Linked DNA regions of Homo sapiens: all the other regions are linked to region 1. The links are contacts of gene promoters, found by promoter capture Hi-C in blood cells and fetal thymus (Javierre and others, 2016). All regions are on one chromosome and are shown on one strand. The core of a region is centred on a gene start or on the middle of the fragment in contact, and the rest is flanking DNA. Distances in the headings are between cores, read along the strand shown.

Region 1 (2,965 bases), core at 313-2,812:
CATCCGTCGTCCCAGTCATCCCAGTCATCATCATCATCCTCCTCAAAGCTACCCTGGTTTGAGAGGAAGCCACTGCCCCCACCACTCCTAGCTGGGCTGGCCACACTGGGGCTGTTGTACAAGCTCACCTGGGCTCCGGGAGAGCCTGCAGGGCTGCTGGAGTAGTCAGCATGGTTGGTGCTGATGCCAGAACGGACGATCTCCACATAAGAGGCAGGAAAGAGCCCTGTCTCCCCACGGCTGTTCTGGCCCTGCAGCCAGCCATCCAGTGAGGTCTCGCTAAAGATGACCAGGTCCTCATCCTGCTGGATGCTGATTTCCTCCTTGTTCTCACTGTGAAAGTCATAGAGGGCTCGGCCTTTCAGTGCCATGGCTGGGCTGGGTGGTATAGAAAGATGGGAAGGAGAGGGTCCTGCCCAGACCGGGGATGCTCACAAGGCAGTCCAAGAATGCACTCGCAGCTGAATGGCGCTTACACAGTTCAATCTCTCAGGTCCTAAGGTGGGGTCTCAGCACCCACAGATGCTGTCCAGTCTCCCCCTCTTCAAAGCAATGTCCATGGCCCAGAAACTGCCCTATCAGGTCTCCGGGCATATGCTTGTGAGCAGGGAGGGCTCATGTCCACAGTCTCCTCCTCCCTTAGCAGCCTCTGGGGGGTTAGAGGGGAATCTCTCCTAACTCCTACTCCCAGAAGAAAAGTCAAGTGACCTGGAGAAATCTGCCCTGCGAGGGGAAAAATTCGACACTTTCCACTGGAACAACGTTCTAAAATAGAAGAGACTCACTCTGAAACCACCATTCCAGAAACCCGGGCAGGGCTCGGCTGTCCCTCTGGCTCCCAGATTCTTTTGGCGGCTCTCGCTTTGGGAGGCTCTCACATTCCTCTGCAGATCTGCCCCTTCCTCCTTCCTCCTCTTGCTCCTGGGCCACTGGGTTTTCAAAAATCCGGAAAATCCAAGAGGGGCAAGGAGAAAAGCAGCAGCCGCCTGAATCGAGTCCAAGGGTGGATGTGTCCGGCTTCACAACGAGCCAGGCCGGGAAAACAAGGACTGAGGCTTACACAACAGGCCGCCAACTCTTCGACCCCGGCTGCGCAGCCGGAGCCCCCGCCGGCTCGGGCGCCCTCTCCCCGCCCCAGAAGTGGCCAGCCCCAACCCCGGAGGAAGGAGGGGGCGCGACGAGGCTGTCGGGCGACTTCTAGCCACTCGCTGAGTGGTCTCTTTTGTTTGCCTAATTCCTCAGCAGTTTCTGAGCCTGACGCTGACCCTGCTCTGAATCCCAGGAACCCCGTCCAAAGGTAACCCCAGCAGAAACCGGTTCCTCACCCGGGACTTACGACCCCCGATCACCACCCTCGCGTGCACGCACACACTCAACAGTTTGGAGTTTGGAGAGTGAGCTCCGGCGAGCAGATGGCGCGGCCAGCCGTCTGTCCGTCCGTCCTCCTCTCCGCCCTGCGGGGCCCGGCCAGTGGGGGGCGGGCTGCGCCCCCAGCCTGCCTTCCCCGGCGCTCGCAGACCCTCCGCTCCGCCAGCGAGAAGGCAGCTCCAAAACAAAAAGGCGATTCCGGGAGGTGGCGTCCTGAGGAAGGAGGGGATCGCCAAAGGGGAGGTGAGGGGTGGGGAGAGGGAGGAGGGAGGGGGAAGCAGGCTGGAGAATCGGGCAAACTCCGCTGCACTTCCGTGCGTCCCGGCGGGGCAGGGACGGCCAGCTCCGCCCTCCCGCGGGCCCGGGGCGCTGCAGCCGAGCCCCCGCCTACTCCTCCGCGCGGCTTCCCAGCTGGCCAGCGCCCTCGCTCGCTGGCGCTCAGTCCGGGAGGCGAGAGGGAGGAAACGACCCGGGAACGAGGGGGCCCGAGAGCCTCCGGGGCTGGTCCCTGGGACCGCCACCTCCCCTCCTCTCCCTCCGCCTGTCCGCCCTCGCCGGGAGACACCTCACGCCCCCGTGGTTGGAGCGCCCGGCGGGGGAGCTTGCCAGCTGCCGCTGCCTCGCTTCCTGGACTCCGTCATCCTCCTGCCTTTTCCGTGACGCAAATGGAGTAAAACTCCGAAAGTTTGCAAAGCGTGGGGCTGCAAGGAGCACCGCGCCAGAGCCAGGATCGGGAGATCGGGGTGGGGGGAGGGGGGTGCGTGGAAAGCCGCCGCGCCAGCTGGGGTTGGGGAGCAGAGTCGCGGACTCGCCTTCCCACCTTCCCATTCCCCACTCCTGCTCCGCAGGGACGGGTCGTGGCGCAGCTCAGAGATTGTTTTCCGGAGGAACAGAAACGGCCTGCGCGTTCCAGGCGTCTGACCTAAGATACCGAGAGCTGCGGGTGCAGCACCCTAGCCAGACAGGGCGACCCTGCCCTGGGCGACTAGCTTGGAAGGAGGGAAAGACACTACTCTACATCTGCAGCGACAGGGAACAAGTCTAGGTGCCACCCGGTTCCGTGTTGCTTAGTACAGCAGCGGGGACTGGATGTTCTGTGCTAGCCAGCGGCAGCAAGGAGAGAAGTGGTCAGGTAGAGAATCTTCGAGAAGAGGCAAGTGGGATCTGACCCTCGGTCAGCATATCGGGAACACTTTGGGCATTGATTCTGCTAGGCACTGTGCTGGGCACTGGGGAGTAGTACACCACAAGGCAGTCGGGGTTTCTATCCTGGGGGGCTTACAGTCCACCCTCTCTTGTCTTTAATCAATCCATTCTGTCTCAGTCATTCATTCAGCCAAGTCATGCACTCAAGAAACATTAACTGAGTACCTACTCTGCACCAGGCCCCTGAGCTACAAAGACAAATAAGACATTATCCTTATTTTCCAAAAGCTCAGATATGTTGTGACAAGTAGACAAATGCTCCCTGCCCAGTGTGACTAGTTAGTGCCATGAAAAGTGCACATGAGGGTACCTACCCCAGCCTGGGTAGAGCAAGGATCAAGGAAAGCTTCCTGAAGGAGGAAGTGCCTAAGATGAGGCAAAGGCTTCAGGA
Region 2 (2,965 bases), core at 264-2,763, 250 kb after region 1:
TGATCTTCTAACCAGTGCTGGATGTTTATCAAGAAAAATCTCTCCCAGAGTTCTGGAATTTTTTTAAAAATTATTATTATTATTTTTTTTTTGAGATGAAGTCTCACTCTTGTTCCCCAGGCTGGAGTGTGATGGCATGATCTTGGCTCACTGCAACCTCCGCCTCCTGGGTTCAGGTGATTCTCCTGCCTCGGCCCCCCAAGTAGCTGGGATTACAGGTGCCTGTCACCACACGCCCGGCTAATTTTTGTTATGTTTTTTAGTAGAGACGGTGTTTTACCATGTTGGCCAGGCTGGTCCAGAACTCCTGACCTCAGGTAATCCACCTGCCTCGGCCTCCCAAAGTGCTGGGATTACAGGCATGAGCCACTACACCGAGTCTGGAATCTTTACTATATTTGACAACCTAAGAATTATGTGAACATTAAAGCAATATTCTTGATCAAAAGAATGGCTTGTTATTTTGCCTGGTTTCGGTACAACTCTTTGATCACCACTTTAACTGATCTGAGAGTATTTTATTAGAAAAAGGGGAAACCAAATGCTCAGAAGCAGTTCTTCTTAGGCAGGAAATAATTCATCCCTGGTAGCAGATTTCTGATCCAAAACCAGATGGTAGTAGTCATACCTCAGGATAACTGCATCCTGCCCCTAATTGCTTGTCACTTTTTGGTTTGATTCTTCAGGAAATTCCCTGAGTTGTTTAATTGGTTTAAAAACTTTCTGGGCTATAAGGAGTCTGTACATCTGGAAACTTATCCAAAGGAGCGAGCCACAGAGGGCATTGCTATGGAGATAGATTATGCTTCTTGTAAACGATTGGGCTCCAGCTATCGAGCCTTACCAAAGAGTTACCAGCAGCCCAAGTGTACAGGACGGACTCCTCTCTGTAAAGAGGTAAGGCCTTCCCTAGCAAAGATCAGCCCTGGGTCCTCAGCTTTTTCCAGAAGGGAGTGGTGGTACCAAGGATTGAGAATTTATATGAATGATGAAATTAAGAACCCTTTTAATCCTTTTTAAAAAGAAAATGTTTTCTACTTTTTTGTTTGTTTTTGAGACAGGGTTTCGTTTTGTCACCCAGGCTGTAGTGCAGTGATGTGATCACGGCTCATAGTGCCTCAACCTCCTGGGCTCAAATGATCCTCCCAAGTACCTGGGACTTACACATGCCTTCACACCCAGCTAAAAATATAAAAATAAAAGTTTTTAGTTTTGTAAAGATTGGGTCACTCCTCCTGGGCTCAGGTGATCTTCCTGCTTCGTCCTCCCAAAGCACTGGAATTATATTTCCGCTTATATTCAGCACCCTTTTCTTACTAATAGCTTTTTGTAAACTTGCTAAAGGTGAAATTTGTGAAGTAATATTAGTTGCCTATTTCTCTGCTAGAGTTTTGTCTTTTCATTCAGAATGCTTAATCACCAGAAAGCTTTTTTAGGCTTTTGTTTCAGTCTCTCTTCTTCTACCCAAAGGTTTTAAATGATACCTGGGTTTCCTTCCCTTCGTGGTCTGAGGACTCTACCTTTGTGAGTTCCAAGAAGACTCAATATGAAGAACATATTTATCGTTGTGAAGATGAACGCTTTGAGGTACAAGCTTGTTTGGCATTTGAAGTTGGGGGAAATGGGAGATGCTCAGTGAGACTATCAGTACCTGTCTCTGAGGGTTATTAAGATGGAAGAGCCAAAGGCTCACATTCTTCTATGGTAAGTGCTTGTTGTGGTACTTTCCATGCTTTATGCATTGGTCAAATGTATATATTAGTACATGCTTTATGGCAAATGTGACTTATCTAGGCCACTTTAGCCCTTTTAACTGAAATTGTCCATTGATGACTAAATAATAGTTCTTTTGATTTTGCATGGCATTTTAAGATTATTATGTTTTGCATGGTGAAGAAAATCAGTATCCTAAGGTTTATAGTACTTTCTTGAAGCTGTTTTTAAATTATTTAAGATCTGTGTGTATTGTTACCCTTAGCAAGTATCTTGCCATGGTTAGCAAACCAGCTCTGAGAACTGGCATTTTTCTTTCATGTTTCTGGTATTGATTGCTTTGTTGTTTTTTGTTTGTTTGTTTGTTTGTTTTGTTTTGTTTTTTTGAGACGGAGTCTCGCTCTGTCTCCCAGGCTGGAGTGCAGTGGCGCAATCTCGGCTCACTGCAAGCTCTGCCTCCCAGGTTCATGCCATTCTCCTGCCTCAGCCTCCCGAGTAGCTGGGACTACAGGCGCCCGCCAACACGTCCGGCTAATTTTTTGTATTTTTATTAGAGACGGAGTTTCACCGTGTTAGCCAGGATGGTCTCGATCTCCTGACCTCGTGATCCACCCGTCTCGGCCTCCCAAAGTGCTAGGATTACAGGTGTGAGCCACTGCGCCCAGCTGATTGCTTTGTTTTGTTTTGTTTTTTTGAGACAGGGTCTCATTCTATTGCCCAGGCTGCAGTGCAGTGGCACAATCACAGTTCATTGCAGCCTCAACCTTCCAGACTCAAGTGTGATCCTCCCACCTCAGACCCCCACCCCTACCCGCCACCGAGTGGCTGGGACTACAGGCATGTGCTACCATGCCTGGGTAAATTTTTTTTTTTTTTTTTTAAACTTTAAATTCTGGGATACATGTGCAGAACGTGCAGGTTTGTTACATAGATATACATGTGCTTTGGTGGTTTGCTGCACCTATCAACTCATCATCTAGGTTTTAAGCCCCACATGCATTAGGTATTTGTCCTAATGCTCTCCCTCCCCTTGCCTCCTACCCCCTGTGGCTAATTTTTTGTTTTTTATAGAAACAGTGTTTTACTACATTACCCAGGCTGGTCTCAAACTCTTGGGTCCAAGCGATCATCCCACCCTGGCCTCCCAAAGTGCTGGGATTACACACATGAGCCACCATACCTGGCCTGATTGGCTCCTTTTGAAAGAAGGCTAAATTAGGGACCCCTTTCTTTTTAAAGACAGAGTATTGCT
Region 3 (2,965 bases), core at 228-2,727, 230 kb after region 1:
TACATATTTAGCAGGTTATCTTTACAGTTGCTTGTGTTTTTCTCTCCCAACAAGATTGTAGACTTCAGGAGATTCGGGGCCTTAATAGTAAATCCCTGTTGAAGTGAGCTAAGAAACTTTATCAGCAGAGTCTAAGGGTCTCCCCAAGTGCTTCCTTAAATCTGTAGCTTCTAAATAACTACATCCAAGTTTTTTTTTTAAGTTGTGCTACCTAGAACTGTATACATGCATTTATAGAGAGTTTATATAAGAGTTGGACTATGCTTTAGGTGATGAGAGAATTTCCTCACTATTTTTACATGTAGGTGTCTTATTTATTATGTGAGTGTCATGCAGAGTTTTTAAAGCATAGGATTATTCTATAACTTTTATTTTACTTTTTTGTTTTTTTGAGACAGAGTCTCACTCTGCTGCCCAGGCTGTAGTGCAGTGGCGCCATCTCAACTCACTGCACCCTCCCCTGCCTGGGTTCAAGTGATTCTTATGCCTCAGTCTCCCAAATAGCTGGGATTACAGGCATGCACCACCAAGCCTAATTTTTGTATTTTTTTTTTTTTTTACTAGGACGGGGTTTTTCCATGTTAGCCAGGCTGCTCTCAAACTCCTGGCCTCAAGGGATCCACCCTCCTTGGCCTCCCAGAGTACTAGGATTACAGGCATGAGCCACCACACCTGGCCTATAACTAATTTTTAAACAGTGGTTTGCTTGGTTTGCTGTGACTTTCAGTACCTTTTTGTTTCAGACATATACATATCACACATAATTGCTTTCTTTTGGGTTTCTGTACTTTTTCCGTCTCTGCAGTAGTTACCTTATACCATACCATGTCTTATTGATAACTGTTCTTTTGTTGTGTAATGATGCATGCTATTCTTAAATATCTTCCAAAGTCTTGGTTCCTTTTGCAAACTTAATATATTTTGTGTTCACTTAAGTTGGTCATTAATGAAACATTTTAGTATGGAAAGTTCAGAATATGAATTAAAATAGTCCATTGAATTTCAACAGAAATTGTCATGATATTTGTATAGAAAAACTAACCATCAAACAAGTGGGTATTGACCAACTATACAATCTGATTTCTAGCAACACCGAAACACTGATTAACCATGGCCGTAATGGAAGTCTGAAGAACTCTTAAACAGCCATTTGTCTCGGGGCCGGGTGCGGTGGCTCACGCCTGTAATCCTAGCACTTTAAGAGGCCGAGGCGGGCAGATCACGAGGTCAGGAGATCGAGACCATCCTGGCTAACACAGTGAAATCCCGTCTCTACTAAAAATAGAAAAAAAAATTAGCCGGCCGTGGTGGCGGGCGCCTGTAGTCCCAGCTACTTGGGAGGCTGAGGCAGGAGAATGGCGTGAACCCGGGAGGCAGAGCTTGCGGTGAGCCGGGAAAGCGCCACTGCACTCCAGCCTGGGCGATAGAGCGAGACTCTGTCTCAAAAAAAACAAAAACAAAAAAGCGGCCATTTGTCTCAATCCATTAGTGCTGCTATAACAAAATACCTGAGACTGTATAATCTAAATAATAGCAGTTTATTTCTCACAGTTCTGGAGAAGTTCTGGGGGCTGGGAAATCTAAAATCAAGGTGCTGGCCGGGTGCGGTGGCTCACGCCTATAATCCCAGCACTTTGGGAGGCTGAGGAGGGCAGATCATTTGAAGTCAGGAGTTCAAGACCAGCCTGGCCAACATGGTAAAACTACCGAAGATACAAAAAAATGAGCCAGGCATGATGGCATGCACCTGTAATCCCAGTTACTCTGGAGGCTGAGGCACGAGAATCGCTTGAACTCAGGAGGTGGAAGTTGCAGTGAGCCGAATTTGTGCCACTGCACTCCAGCCTGGGTGACAGAGTGAGACCATGTCTCAAAATAAATAAATAGGCCAGACGCAGTGGCTTACGCCTGTAATCCCAGCACGTTGGGAGGCCGAGGCGGGCGGATCACGAGGTCAGGAGATTGAGACCAGCCTGGCCAACATGGTGACACCCCATCTCTACTAAAAATACAAAAATTAGCTGGGCGTGGTGGCAGGCGCCTATAATCCCAGTTACTCAAGAGGCTGAGGCAGGAGAATCGCTTGAACCCGGGAGGCGGAGGTTGTATTGAGCTGAGATCGTGCCTTTGCACTCCAGCCTGGGAGACAAGAGCAAGACTTCATCTAAAAAAATAATAATAATAATAAATAAAATAAATAATAAAATAAAATCCAGGTGCCAGTTGGTTTGGTGTCTGGTGAGGGCCTGAACTCTGTTTTTCGAGATGGTCCCTGAATGTGTGTCCTTACACTGGAAGGGAGAAGGGCCGAAGGGACTAACACTGGTTCACTCCAGCCCTTTTATAAGGTCCCTAATCCCATTCATGAGGGCTCCACAATCACTTTCTGAAGGCCTCACTTCTTAATATCATCATATCGGTGATTAAGTTTCGATGTAAGAATTTTGTGGGACACATTTCAGACCACAGCACCAGTTAATGATTGACTTGAATGTAAATGTTCCATTTTGCAACAAATCAAAAGACTATCTATGCCTGGCCAGGTGTGGTGGCTCACATCTGTAATCCCAGCACATTGGGAGGCTGAGGCAGGCGGATCAGTTGAGGTCAGGAGTTCAAGACCAGCCTGGCCAACATGGTGAAATCCCATCTCTACTAAAAATACAAAAAAATTAGTTGGATGTGGTGACATGCGCCTGGAATCCCAGCTACTCAGGAGGCTGAGGCAGGAGATATCACTTGAACCCAGGAGGCAGAAGTTGCAGTGACCCGAGATTGCGCCATTGCACTCTAGCCTGGGAGACAAAATGAGACTCCCATCTCAAAAAAAAAAAAAAGAAAAAGACTGGCTTAAATCACATCAAATGTTTATTTCTGAAATTTCTTAAACCTGATATTTTGTATAATTTTAAATATTTAGGCTTCAGTTAAACTACCAAAATAAAACTTAACGTATCTCAGAGTA
Region 4 (2,965 bases), core at 210-2,709, 200 kb after region 1:
TAATTCTTTTTACATCTTCAGTGGGAGCAGACAAGACACTGGAGAGCTGTGCATGGCAGATGTTAGTACCTGGGAATTTTAACTGGAATTAAGAGGTTATATCCCTGGCATTCAGTAGTTTAGCATAGTGCTTTTCATGGCTTTCTCTCTTTTCTGGGCAATCCACCAGCCAAGAGTTTGTTAAGCTTTACTTTCTGTAGGCCTTTAAAAAAATAAATAGTATATGCTTTTTCAAAATACACCTTCCTCGCCCCTTGAAAAATAAAAGCTGATATTTATTGAGCACTTACTGTGTCACAGATACTGTGTTAGGCACTAGACTTTTTTTTTTTTTTGAGATGGAGTCCTGCTCTGTCTCCCAGGCTGGAGTGCAGTGGTGCAATCTCAGCTCACTGCAACTTCCGCCTCCCGGGTTCTAGCGATTGTCCTGCCTCAGCCTCCACGAAGAAGAAGCTGGGGCGCCACCACACGCCTGGCTAAGTTTTGTACTTTTGGTAGAGGCAGGGTTTCACCATGTTGATCAGGTTGGTCGCAGACTCCTGACCTCGTGATCCGCCCGCCTCAGCCTCCCAAAGTACTGGGATTACAGGCATGATCCACTGCACCCGGCCGCATAATGTCTTTTTTTCTCATGTCTTTTTTTTTTTTTTTTTAGACGAAGTCTCGCTCTGTCACCAGGCTGGAGTGCAGTGGCATGATCACAGCTCACTGCAGTGTTGATCTTCTGGACTTAAGCGACCCTCCTACCTTAGCCTCCCATGTAGCTGGGACTACAGGTGTGTGCCACCACGCACCTGGCTAATTTTTTTTATATTTTTATAGAGGTGAAGTCCTGCTGTGTTGCCCAGGCTGGTCTCGAACTCCTGGGCTCAAGAGGTCCTTCTGCCTCAGCCTCTCAAAAGTGCTAGGATTAAGACGTGAGTCACCGTGCCCGGTCATGGGTGGCAATTTCTACCTGATGTATTTCTTATTTGCCCCTTTTGCTTTTGTTTTCCCTACCCACTTTTTGTCTTGTATGCTTGTATGTTACCCATATTTCTCAGCATGACAGTGGACCCTTCATGAGTCTTCTTGGTGTCCTCCAGGGCTAGGCTTGCTGACATATGGGCTATTGGAGGATATGCAGGTCCACATCCTTTATTTGCAGTTCTGAAATGCAAGAGTTTTTGTTTTTTGGTAAGTCTAGTTCCACAACTAGTTTTGGGGTACAGCCTGACCTGGGCTATCCTGCATGATGCAGAAATGTGACTGCTTGATTATGGGGAGCTACTCAGCCCTAGCTGGGAGAGAGAGATGATACAGTATATGTACCATATTACCTTTCTAAAATCCAAACAATGCTGATGACTCTAACGGGGATCTCTCCCTCTACCATAGACTAATATGTTTAGTGGCCCACTCAAGGTCTCCACTCGATGTCTCCTCTTGGATAACTAAGAGACATTGTTGACTCTTCTGTGTCTTTTTCATATGTGGTCCATCAGTAAATTTTACTGCTTTATATTCAAAATACTATCCAGAATTAGACCACTTAGGATCTGCATCTCCACTGCCCTAGTCAGTGCCTGTGCATCTCTAGCTTGGATTCTATTCTCCTTGTTTTGTTACTGCGGCTCTTAAATGTGTTCTCAACATAGCAACCCAAGTGATTCTTTTGAAACCTAAGTCATACCGTGTCACTTCTCTGCTTAAAACCATCCAGTGGCTTTCCATTTCAGTCTGAGTATTAAACCTGAGTCCTTATTTAGATATGTCTGTAATGAGCTGGGCGCGGTGGCCCATGCCTGTAATACCAGCACTTTGGGAGGCTGAGGCAGGCGGATCACGAGGTCAGGAGATTGAGACCATCCTGGCTAACATGGTCTCCACTAAAAAAAATACAAAAGAGTTAGCCGGGCATGGTGGCACACGCACCTGTAGTCCCAGCTACTCGGGAGGTTGAGGCAGGAGAATGGTGTGAACCCGGGAGGTGGAGCTTGCAGTGAGCCAAGATCGTGCCACTGCACTCTAGCCTGGGCGACAGAGCGAGACTGTCTCAAAAGAAAAAAAAAAGGATATGTCTGTAATTTCACCATTTTGGGAGCTCAAGTGGGAGGATCGTTTGAGTCCAGGAGTTTGAGACCAGCTTGGGCATCATAACAAGACCCTGTCTCTATAAAAAAATTAAAAATTAGCCAAGCATGCTGGCGCGTGCCTGTAGTCCCAGTTACTTGAGAGGCTGAGGCAGGAGGATTGCTTGAGCTCAGGAGCTTGAGGCTGCAGTGAGCCATGACTGTGCCACTGCACCCCAGCCTTGACGACAAAATGAGACCCTGTGTCAAAAAATAAAAAAACACCTGTAAGAACAAATCTGATGTACCCTCTGCCTGCCACCCTTATCCTAGTACCTCTCTGACTACATTTCTGACTAGTCCTTCTTTCGTTTTTCTTCAGCTACCCAGCCTTCATGCTGTTTTGGAACATGTCAAGCACATGTGAGCCCTCACAAAGACATGAGGGTCTTTGCGGTTGCTGTCCCCTCTGCCTAGAAGGCTTCCTCCACTAATTTCTGCATGACTAGCTCCCTCACTTCCTTTACTCAGAAGTTACCTTATCAGTAGGTATTATCTGACCATTCTTATCTACAATTTCAAAAACTCTTCCTTGCCTTTTGTTCTTGATACCTGTCACTGCCTACTATTCTAAATATTATACTTTGTCTATTGTGTCATCTTTCACTAAAATATAAGCTTCTTGAGGGAAGAGATTTTTGTTTACCGTTGTATCTCCAGCTCCTAAAACACCTGGTGCATAGTATGTGCTCAGTAGATATTAGAGAATGTATACATGAATGAATGATTTGGTTTCCACCACAGACAAGACAAAGCAGTATGCTGAGCATGGTAGAGGATACATAGATGGTTAAAGATGTTATGTGCCCATGTTTGTGTGGGAGCAGAAGAGCTAATGTGATAAAAGCAGTGTG
Region 5 (2,965 bases), core at 335-2,834, 180 kb after region 1:
ATTTAGCAGCCTGGGACATGAGGGAGGGGGTCCAGGAGCTGGTCTGGGAGGGATGAGGGAGGCAGGGAGGGACCCAAGCCTTCAGTATCTGAGACTTTGAGTTCTGACACTATGAGTTCACCTTGTCTGTAGGCCATGGCCCTATCTCTGGACAGAGGGACCAGCACCAGTTCAGTGCTTGAGATGTGCTAAGCACTATGCTAGGTGCTTTTCCCCCACCCTGCCTCATTCAAACCTCACAACAATTCAGTGAGATATTATCTTCTCTCCCTTCTCCTGTGCACCCCTTTCTCATTTCTATATAGATGAGGAAGGTGAGGTCCAGAGGGTTACAGTGATTTGCTCTAAAACGAGCTCAAGTTGGTCTGCTTACAAAGCCTGTGGTCTCTTCACTGCATGGAAGATGGAGATCTTGTGTTTGGAGAACAGAGGTTTGTTTAGCTCTCCTTTCAGAGTAAAAAAAGTTCTTAAATTCCAGGTTGTTGTTCTTGTGCCCATGCTTCATGTAGTAGACGCGAAGGGTGACAGGGTTGGTGACTGACTGTCCTAGCTAGGACCTCCTGATGTAGGGTCCTCATGTCTGCAGCGTACCAAAGGGGTTATCATTCTCCCCAGGAGACTCCATATCTATGGGTACATGGTCTTTGTGAGAAGATCTTGAGTCATTTGCATTTATCTCTTAGAAAGAAAGGAACCAGAAGCTTTGTACATGGAAGACCACTCCCCATATCATACCTGTTGGCTGTTGATGGCCTGCCCAGTTGGGGCAGTTGTGGCTGGGAAATATTGGGGTGTTCTTAATAATAGTCATAGCAGCCAATTTACTGGATGCTCACTCTATTCCAGGCACTGTTCAGAGTAATTTCTAGGTATCATCTCATTCACCCTCAACAACCTTTTGAGGTAGGTATTGACAGAAGAAAAAAATTGAGAGACAGGAATGTTAATTTGCTACAGCCAGGATCCCAGACCATCTGACTCCAAAGTATCTTCTTTCACCTCTTACACTAGACTTCCTCTAAGGATCCATCTTCTGATCTGCCAATAAATTTTTATCGAGTTTCTTACCATAATCAGGAGCTCAAGTGTAGAGCAGAAGATTAATCTAGTTCCTTCTCCAGATGAGCCTCCATTCTCTTGGGAGTGCACAAACATAAGAAGTGAACAGAGATTCTTGGAAATCTGAGAAACCAGAGAGGTCAGGGGTTTGGTGGAACATGTAAGAAATGGGATTAATGATAAACGGCCTGGAGGAGGTAACTTTAAATTGTCATTTATTTGAAGAGGCTGTAACCCGACTGCCCTGTGAATTTAAGGTTATGCATGAGTTCCTCATTGCATATCTGAAGACTGGTGAGGTTATCTATCACTTCAGCTCCATAAAATGCTGATTTCTGGGCCCATCCAGTAGGTTGTTAGTGAGTGACAGGATTATCCAGGTTTGGGAACCATAGATTTAGTTCATGTTTCTGACCCTATAGAGAGTTAACAAATTGATGTCTCCTAAATTTTCAGTAAAACTCAGAGGAACTCCTCCCACTGCCATTGTTTGTAGCTTTTACCAGCGTGAACCTACCTGTGTTAGGTGTTAAAGGAGGAGGTAAAGGAAAGGGAAGGCAGAGACGCAACCCAGAATCTGTTTGGCAAGTCAGGGTTCTCATACAGGAGACTTAGTGAACAAAGCAAGAGAAAATGCTCAGGGTCCAAGTGCAGTGGCTTTATGCCTGTAATCCCAGTACTTTGGAAGGCCGAGGTGGGCAGATCACCTGAGGTCAGGAGTTTGAGACCAGCCTGACCAATATGATGAAACCCCATCTCTACTAAAAATATAAAAATTACCCGGGTGTGGTGGTATGTGCTTGTAATCCCAGCTACTCGGGAGGCTGAAATGGGAGAATCACTTGAATCTGGGAGGCAGAGGTTGCAATGAGCCGAGATCGCGCCATTGCACTCTAGCCTGGGCAACAAGAGTAAAACTCCATCTCAAAAAAAATAAATAAATAAAAAAGAAAGACAGTGTTCAGGAAAGAAGAAAACACTGAGCTAAAGCAGGCTTCTGCTTCTGATTTGATGGCTGTTTGTTTCACCTTTCTCTAACATTCCCATGCTATATAATTTTTCAAACATGAGATAATCCCTGTGTCCTTTTTCCCATTGCTCCCTTCATCTTGCCCATCCTCATTGGCTAGGATGGGACTCCTGAGACGAAGGGTGCCCCAGCATCCTCAGCCTCGGAGGCCCACCCTTATCAGTCTTCATGTGACAGTATGCAGGTAAATGACAGAGTAGGACTTGTTCTTGGGAGAATGGACTATTTAGCATCATAGCCCTAGGGAAATTTGGTTCCTTCCCTGAAAGGAATGCTTCCTGTCTCTTGGGACAGACAGACACACATACAAAAACTTTTATAAATCAGAGACCTAGAGGGAATTGGGCCAAGAGGCATTGGCCAAGTAGAAAAGCTTCTCTAGAGTGACCCAGCTCTTTTGTGGTTTTGAGGTCTTACCACTGAACCAAACCCAAGTCCTAGGTTCCCTCTGTAAAAGAAGGGGCTACACTAGATGATCCTACCATGGGTCCTCTGACTGTCAGGGTCCAGTTCTTTGTTAGACAGTGCAAACACCCATAGAGGAGCTATTAGGCCTTTACTTGGGTTGAGTTGGCTCCCACTAGCACTCCCCACTTTTCATTTTTTTTACTTTCAGAGACAGAGTCTCACTCTGTTGCCTAGGTTAGAGGGGAGTGGCATGATCATGGCTCACTGCAGTCTCAACAACTGGGCTCAAGCAGGAACCCAGCTTTTTTTTTTTTTCTCTCTCTCTCTCTAGAGACAGGATCTCACTATGTTGCCCAGGCTGGTCTCGAACTCCAGCCTCAAGCAATCCTCCTGCCTCGGCCTCCCAAAGTGAGAGGATTACAGGCATGGGCCACCACACCCAGCCTCTCCAGTTTTAGTGTGTTTTCA
Region 6 (2,965 bases), core at 200-2,699, 160 kb after region 1:
CCACCCATATTTCTACCAGTTTTCTGATCAGTATCACTTAGGTAATCTCTAAGAAGACTGAGGCTTTCTCTATAGCTCTTCTTTTTCTGAGCCCATAGTAGAATTGCCTTTTATGCCTGTTTATGGCAACATAGGCTTTTTCTGCATGTACTTCCAAATTCTATCAGCTCTGTCCATTACCCAGGTCCAAAGCTGCTTCCACATTTTTAGTTATTTGTTACAGAAGCACCCCACTTCTTAGTACCAATTTCTGCCTTGGCCATTTGGGACTCCCATCCCCACTCCTTCTCTCTGTTTTTAAATTTAATTATTTTTTTTTTTTTTTGAGATAAAGTCTTGCTTTGTCACTCAGGCTGGAGTGCAGTGGTGTGATGTTGGCTCACTGCATCCTCCACCTCCCAGGTTCAAGCGATTCTCCTGGCTCAGCCTCCTGAGTAGCTGGGATTACAGGTGTGTGCCATCACACCTGGCTAATTTTTGTATTTTTAGTAAAGGCAGGGTTTTATCATCTTGGCCAGTCTGGTCTTGAACCCCTGACCCCAGGTGATCCACCCGCCTTGGCCTCCCAAAGTGCTGGGATTACAGGCATGAGCCACCACACCCAGCTTCTCTTTTTTTTAAGTCAGGGTTTCTCTCCGTCACCCAGGCTGGTGTGCAGTGGCGCTGTCATAGCGCACTGCAGCCTTGACTTCCTGGGCTGAAGCCGTCCTCCCACCTTAGACTCCTGAGCAGCTAGGAGTACAGGTGTGTGCCATGATGCCCGGCTAATTTTTTGACTTCTCTCTAGAGATAACCTCTCATTAGGCAGGGCGCAGTGGCTCATGCCTGTAATCCCAACACTTTGGGAGGCCGAGGCGGGCAGATCATGAGGTCAGGAGATCGAGACCATCCTGGCTAACATGGTGAAACCCCGTCTCTACTAAAAATACAAAAAAATTAGCTGGGCGTGGTGGCGGGAGCCTGTAGTCCCAGCTACTCAGGAGGCTGAAGCAGGAGAATGGCGTGAACCCAGGAGGTAGAGCTTGCAGTGAGTCGAGATCACGCTACTGCACTCCAGCCTGGGCAACAGAGCGAGACTCCGTCTCAAAAAAAAAAGAGATAAGCTCTCATTACATTTCCCAGACTGCTCACGAACTCCTGGCCTCAAGCAATCCTCCTGCCTCCCAAAGTGCTGGGACTACAGGTGTGAGCCACCATGCCTGGTCTCCCTCTCTCTTTTGAATGGAGATATGTTTACTTTTAGAAGTAGTATGTACTTACCACAAAAAATGTTAAATGATATGGAACTGTATGGGCTAGAAATTGAAAAGCTTCCATGTCTCCACCCCTAAGAGTAATTGACACCCCTTTAGCATGGTCAGATTTTGTACATACATACTGTCCCCACTTTTTCTTTATTCTTGCTTGTTTGTTTCGTTTCCTTCAGGTCTCCAGGAAACCTAGAGAAAAACCGTTATGGGGATGTACCCTGCCTGGACCAAACTAGAGTGAAGCTAACAAAGCGAAGTGGCCATACTCAGGTAGACAGATAAATGTAATCTTTTTAGGTGCACTGGGGGAAATAGAGCTTCTTCCAAAGTGAAGCTTACTAATACTTCGGTAGAATGAAAGTAGACTCCGAGGCCAGAGAGATTAGGTTTGAGTTTATATTTTGCTACATACTAGTCTGTGACCATAGGCAAGTCCTCAAATGCCCATCTCACAGTATTGAGTGGAAATTAAATGAAATTCTTTATGTGAATGCTGATAGTGCAAGGTCTGTTGTATTGTAGGTGCTTCATAGATGTTAAATTATTTATCATTTTACTCCTTAGTTGTAAAGTCATGGTCATATAGTGCAATTCCTTTGGTGAGTATATATGCATCAATACAAAGCAACTTTGATTATAAGTGACCTCTGATTTCTCCATCTGTATCTGAGGAAATTGTGGACAACTTATGTATACATAAATGTCTAGGGATAGAGATGAAATGGTCAAATGACTATATTATTTAATATATTAATTTGATTATATCTACATGTTAAAAGCCTCATATGTAATCTATTAACAGAGATATTTAATGAACATTTTATTCAAACACTTTACATACACCTTTAACTTTAGTGTCTTTGTCACATTTGAGCCACTTTTTTTTTTCTCCCTCAAGACAAGGTCTTGCTTTATTGCCCAGGCTAGGTACAGTGATCACAGCTCACTGCAACCTTGACCTCCTGGGCTCAAGTGATTCTTGTACCTCAGCCTCCCAAGTAGCTGAGACCACAGGTGTGTGCCACATACATGGCTAATTTTTAAATACTTTTGTAGAGACAAGTTCTCACTATGTTGCCTAGTCTGGTCTTGAACTCTTGTGCTCAAACAATCCTCTTGCCTCAGCCTCCCTAAGTGCTGGAATTACAGGCCAATTTTTGAGTCAGTCTAACAAGGTTTTCCAGAGTACAACATCTTTATTTACTTTTAAGTGTGTGGCATTGTGACTGGAAATTTTATCCTAAACCAGGAAAATCTGTTAGGGTAACATTAGGACAAATTTTTTTTTTTTTTTTTTTTTTTTGAGACGGAGTCTTGCTCTGTCCCCCAGGCTGGAGTGCAGTGGCGCAATATTGGCTCACCGCAAGCTCCACCTCCCAGGTTCACGCCATTCTCCTGCCTCAGCCTCCCGAGTAGCTGGGACTACAGGTGCCCACCACCACGCCCGGCTAATATTTTGTGTTTTTAGTAGAGACGGGGTTTCACCATGTTAGCCAGGATGGTCTCGATCTCCTGACCTCGTGATCCGCCCGTCTCGGCCTCCCAAAGTGCTGGGATTACAGGCATGAGCCACTAGGCCCGGCCAGGACAAGTTGGTTTTTTAATTCATCCTGCATCTTATGCATCCCCTATAATATGATTCATTCACTTATTCCTTTGTAAAATCCTTAAAAAACAGAAAATTGAGACAGGGTCTCACTCTGTCACCCAGGCTT
Region 7 (2,965 bases), core at 251-2,750, 140 kb after region 1:
ACCTAAACTTGGGCTTGAAGAGTCACAGGTTCCATTACACTTAAATCCTCATGTGTTTTCTCCACAGGGAGCATTTCCAGCTCGTTTGAAGAAGGTGCTGATTGTGGGGGCACCCATATGGTTCCGAGTGCCCTATTCCATCATCAGTCTCCTCCTGAAGGACAAAGTCCGGGAGAGGGTAAGGCAAGCTTGCCCTTTTTTATCTGGAGGTGAATAGATACAGTGAATTCCTGCCAATTAATTTTCTACCTTCAAAAAATCCTCCTGGCGTGTCTTCTAGAGCCTGTTCTGCTTCTGTTAGTGCATTCACTTATATTCTCTACCTGATGCATTAGTCAGTTCAATACAGACTGCCTCTCTTACTGTCCTACGAGCTTCTTGAAGTTCAAAACTAAACACAGTTTATCTGGTTCTCACTTTCTATAGCACCTTGCATAAGATAGTACTGAAGGAACGTGTCCTGGAGGTAACTTAGGGATAGCTGCTACTTCCAAAATTTATCCTAGTGCTGCATAGGCCTTTAATATTTAACAGCTTGTAATATAACTGCATTAGTTGAACTGGCATTAGAATTTGTTCAACTGGAAACATCATTCAATCCCTTGACCACCAGGGTTGTGGAGGAAAGTTTTTCGTTATGTCTCTTTCTACATTTATTCCTGGCATTTTTTTTTCTCAGAATACCTTGTTGCTTCCCAATTTCAAAAGCGTTCAAAATTACTTTAATTCTGGGCCAAGTGTAATGGCTCATGCTTATAATACTAACACTTTGGGAGTCCGAGGCCAAGGCGGGAAGATCGCTTGAGGCCAGGAGTTTGAGACCAGCCTAGGCAACACAGTGAGACCCCGCCGCCACAATAAAACCAGAAACTTTAATTCTGTTATAATCTCCTGCGTGTTCCATGATTAAAAGATTTATGGTCTCAGTTACTGATTGCAGCAATTAAAAGACAGGACATGAAAGTGAAAACATTTGGTTCTGTGGAAGCTGCTTAGAGACCTAATGACGCAGAGTAGGAGAGAGCTTTTCTTTTTTTTTTTTTTTTTTTTTTTTTGAGAGTGTCTCACTCTGTTGCCTAGGCTGGAGTGCAGTGGCACGATCTTGGCTCACTGCAGCCCCGCCTCCTGAGTTCAAGCGATTCTTCTGCCTCAGCCTCCTGAGTAGCTGGGAGTACAGGCGCACGCTACCACACCCAGCTAATTTTTGTATTTTTAGTAGAGACGGTGTTTCACCATATTGGCCAGGCTGGTCTCGAACTCCTGACCTCATGATCCGCCCACCTCAGCCTCCCAAAGTGCTGGGATTACAAGCGTGAGCCACCTTTTTTGAGACGGAGTCTCGCTCTGTCTCCCAGGCTGGAGTGCAGTGAAGCGATCTCGGCTCACTGCAAGCTCCGCCTCCCAGGTTCAAACCATTCTCCTGCCTCAGCCTCCCTAGTAGCTGGGACTACAGGCGTGTGCTGTCACGCCCGGCTAATTTTTTGTGTTTTTAGTAGAGACGGAGTTTCACTGTGTTAGCCAGGATGGTCTTGATCTTCTGACCTCGTGATCCACCCACCTCAGCCTCCCAAAAGTGCTGGGATTACAGGCATAAGCCACCGTGCCCAGCCAGGAGAGATCTTTTCTTTCTTTTTTTTTTTTTTTTTTTGCGACAGAGTTTTGCTGTTGTCGCTGAGGCTAGAGTGCAATGGCATGATCTTGGCTCACTGCAACCTCCGTCCCCCGGGTTCAAGTGATTCTCCTGCCTCAGCCTCCCAAGTAGCTGGGATTACAGGCTCCTGCCAACATGCCCAGCTAATTCTTGTATTTTTTTAGTAGAGATGGGGTTTCACCATGTTGGACAGGCTGGTCTCAAACTCCTGACCTCAGGTGATCCACCTGCCTCAGCCTCCCAAAGTGCTGGGATTATAGGCATGAGCCACCGTGCCAGCTGGAGAGATCTTTTCTAAGGTAACTCTTTGAGAGGAATCCATAGGCAAGTTCTTGCACTTGAATTATAGGAATTATACATGCATGTATAAACTCAAAATATATTAAGCACTTTTTGTAGTCGAAGCACTGGTTCCTGATAATTAAAAATTAAGTGAGACAGTCTACCCTCAAGGAGCTCATGGTCTTGATAGGGAACACAGAGATACACATAGGAGGACTTTGGCTCTGCAGGAACGCAGAGGAGCATATGGCCTCAGGCAGTCAGGAAAGACTTCACAGAAGAGGTGAGCTGTGCTGGTCCATGAAGAGGCAGAGGAGGAAAGGAAGGCATTCCAAGAAGAGGCGACAGCAAAAGAGATGAGCTTTTAGGAGGAAGAGAATCCCCATTCCACAGAGATCCTAAGGAGAACCAGTTAAGCTAATTAGTTCCAGCATGGCTATGTCCAAGCAGAGAGCAGAATTAAGTTTTATGGTTACTACAAAAAATTAGCTGGGCGTGGTTGTGTGCATCTGTATTCCCAGCTACTTGAGGGGCTGAGGTGGAAGGATCACTTGAGCCCAGGAGGTTGAGGCTGCAGTGAGCCTTCATCACGCCACTACACTCCAGGCTGGGTGAAAAAGTGAGACCCTGTCTCAAAAAAAAAGTGTTATCTCACATTTTTCCTGGGCTACCCTGCCTCTGGGTGTCTTGCTTTCATAGAATCCTATCTTTGTGAACAGTTATACCAAGCTGAGTAAAATACAAGCTAACAGGCCTTAGAATTGGTTGTCTGAGTATGGGGTTGACAAAAATAACTACTACCTATGCATTCTTAGTGGCCAAAAAAAGAGTACCAGCATGCAGCGATGCTGGGAAGCCTTGTTAATAATATAAAGCTTTTGTTCACTACATCGTCCTTTCAGAAGATGTATAACAGTGTCCCTAATTCCAGGAGTGAATTTTATATACATTCTGGGAGTTCACACTTTTATCTGGCAAATTCATAGGACTTAAATCTCAGGCAGATGAAATGTAGTCTACTACTTTTACAAG

The links. The method cuts DNA at HindIII sites, captures the fragments that hold promoters and counts their contacts. A CHiCAGO score of 5 or more calls a contact.
Region 2: a fragment that was not itself captured here is called in contact with the fragment with the promoter of SNX33 in region 1 in 9 of 17 cell types (naive CD4 T cells, naive CD8 T cells, erythroblasts and 6 more); the score reaches 9.6 in naive CD4 T cells.
Region 3: a fragment that was not itself captured here is called in contact with the fragment with the promoter of SNX33 in region 1 in 5 of 17 cell types (naive CD8 T cells, total CD4 T cells, naive CD4 T cells and 2 more); the score reaches 7.6 in naive CD8 T cells.
Region 4: a fragment that was not itself captured here is called in contact with the fragment with the promoter of SNX33 in region 1 in 16 of 17 cell types (fetal thymus, total CD4 T cells, naive CD8 T cells and 13 more); the score reaches 13.0 in fetal thymus.
Region 5: a contact is called between a fragment that was not itself captured here and the fragment with the promoter of SNX33 in region 1, in 9 of 17 cell types (activated CD4 T cells, naive CD4 T cells, erythroblasts and 6 more). The highest score is 7.1, in activated CD4 T cells.
Region 6: a fragment that was not itself captured here is called in contact with the fragment with the promoter of SNX33 in region 1 in 6 of 17 cell types (total CD4 T cells, naive CD4 T cells, naive CD8 T cells and 3 more); the score reaches 9.0 in total CD4 T cells.
Region 7: a contact is called between a fragment that was not itself captured here and the fragment with the promoter of SNX33 in region 1, in 10 of 17 cell types (naive CD4 T cells, naive CD8 T cells, total CD8 T cells and 7 more). The highest score is 23.8, in naive CD4 T cells.

The regions. Positions count from the first base shown.
Region 1 is chr15:75,646,509-75,649,473 of GRCh38, reverse strand. It overlaps SNX33 (sorting nexin 33), which reads right to left and starts at 1,562. Exons shown (of 2, transcript NM_153271.2): 1 at 1-1,562. The coding sequence starts at 371. RefSeq lists an enhancer at 1,087-1,778 and a silencer at 1,404-1,943. The HindIII fragment of the contact is 30,102 bases long and covers 1-2,922 here.
Region 2 is chr15:75,398,662-75,401,626 of GRCh38, reverse strand. It overlaps SIN3A (SIN3 transcription regulator family member A), which reads left to right. Exons shown (of 21, transcript NM_001145358.2): 11 at 687-897; 12 at 1,471-1,587. Among named protein-coding and RNA genes, the nearest start is that of MAN2C1, 32 kb to the right of the region's middle. The HindIII fragment of the contact is 167 bases long and covers 1,430-1,596 here.
Region 3 is chr15:75,417,251-75,420,215 of GRCh38, reverse strand. The region is part of intron 3 of SIN3A (SIN3 transcription regulator family member A); the gene reads left to right. Among named protein-coding and RNA genes, the nearest start is that of SIN3A, 33 kb to the left of the region's middle. The HindIII fragment of the contact is 5,237 bases long and covers 1-2,965 here.
Region 4 is chr15:75,445,864-75,448,828 of GRCh38, reverse strand. All of the region lies in intron 1 of SIN3A (SIN3 transcription regulator family member A), which reads left to right. Among named protein-coding and RNA genes, the nearest start is that of SIN3A, 4.3 kb to the left of the region's middle. The HindIII fragment of the contact is 2,544 bases long and covers 188-2,731 here.
Region 5 is chr15:75,464,141-75,467,105 of GRCh38, reverse strand. PTPN9 (protein tyrosine phosphatase non-receptor type 9) reads left to right here. Exons shown (of 13, transcript NM_002833.4): 13 at 1-2,965. Among named protein-coding and RNA genes, the nearest start is that of SIN3A, 14 kb to the right of the region's middle. The HindIII fragment of the contact is 1,761 bases long and covers 704-2,464 here.
Region 6 is chr15:75,488,763-75,491,727 of GRCh38, reverse strand. It overlaps PTPN9 (protein tyrosine phosphatase non-receptor type 9), which reads left to right. Exons shown (of 13, transcript NM_002833.4): 8 at 1,427-1,520. The region is part of intron 2 of LOC105370902 (a long non-coding RNA gene); the gene reads right to left. Among named protein-coding and RNA genes, the nearest start is that of SIN3A, 39 kb to the right of the region's middle. The HindIII fragment of the contact is 274 bases long and covers 1,313-1,586 here.
Region 7 is chr15:75,506,130-75,509,094 of GRCh38, reverse strand. PTPN9 (protein tyrosine phosphatase non-receptor type 9) reads left to right here. Exons shown (of 13, transcript NM_002833.4): 6 at 68-178. Among named protein-coding and RNA genes, the nearest start is that of SIN3A, 56 kb to the right of the region's middle. The HindIII fragment of the contact is 2,620 bases long and covers 191-2,810 here.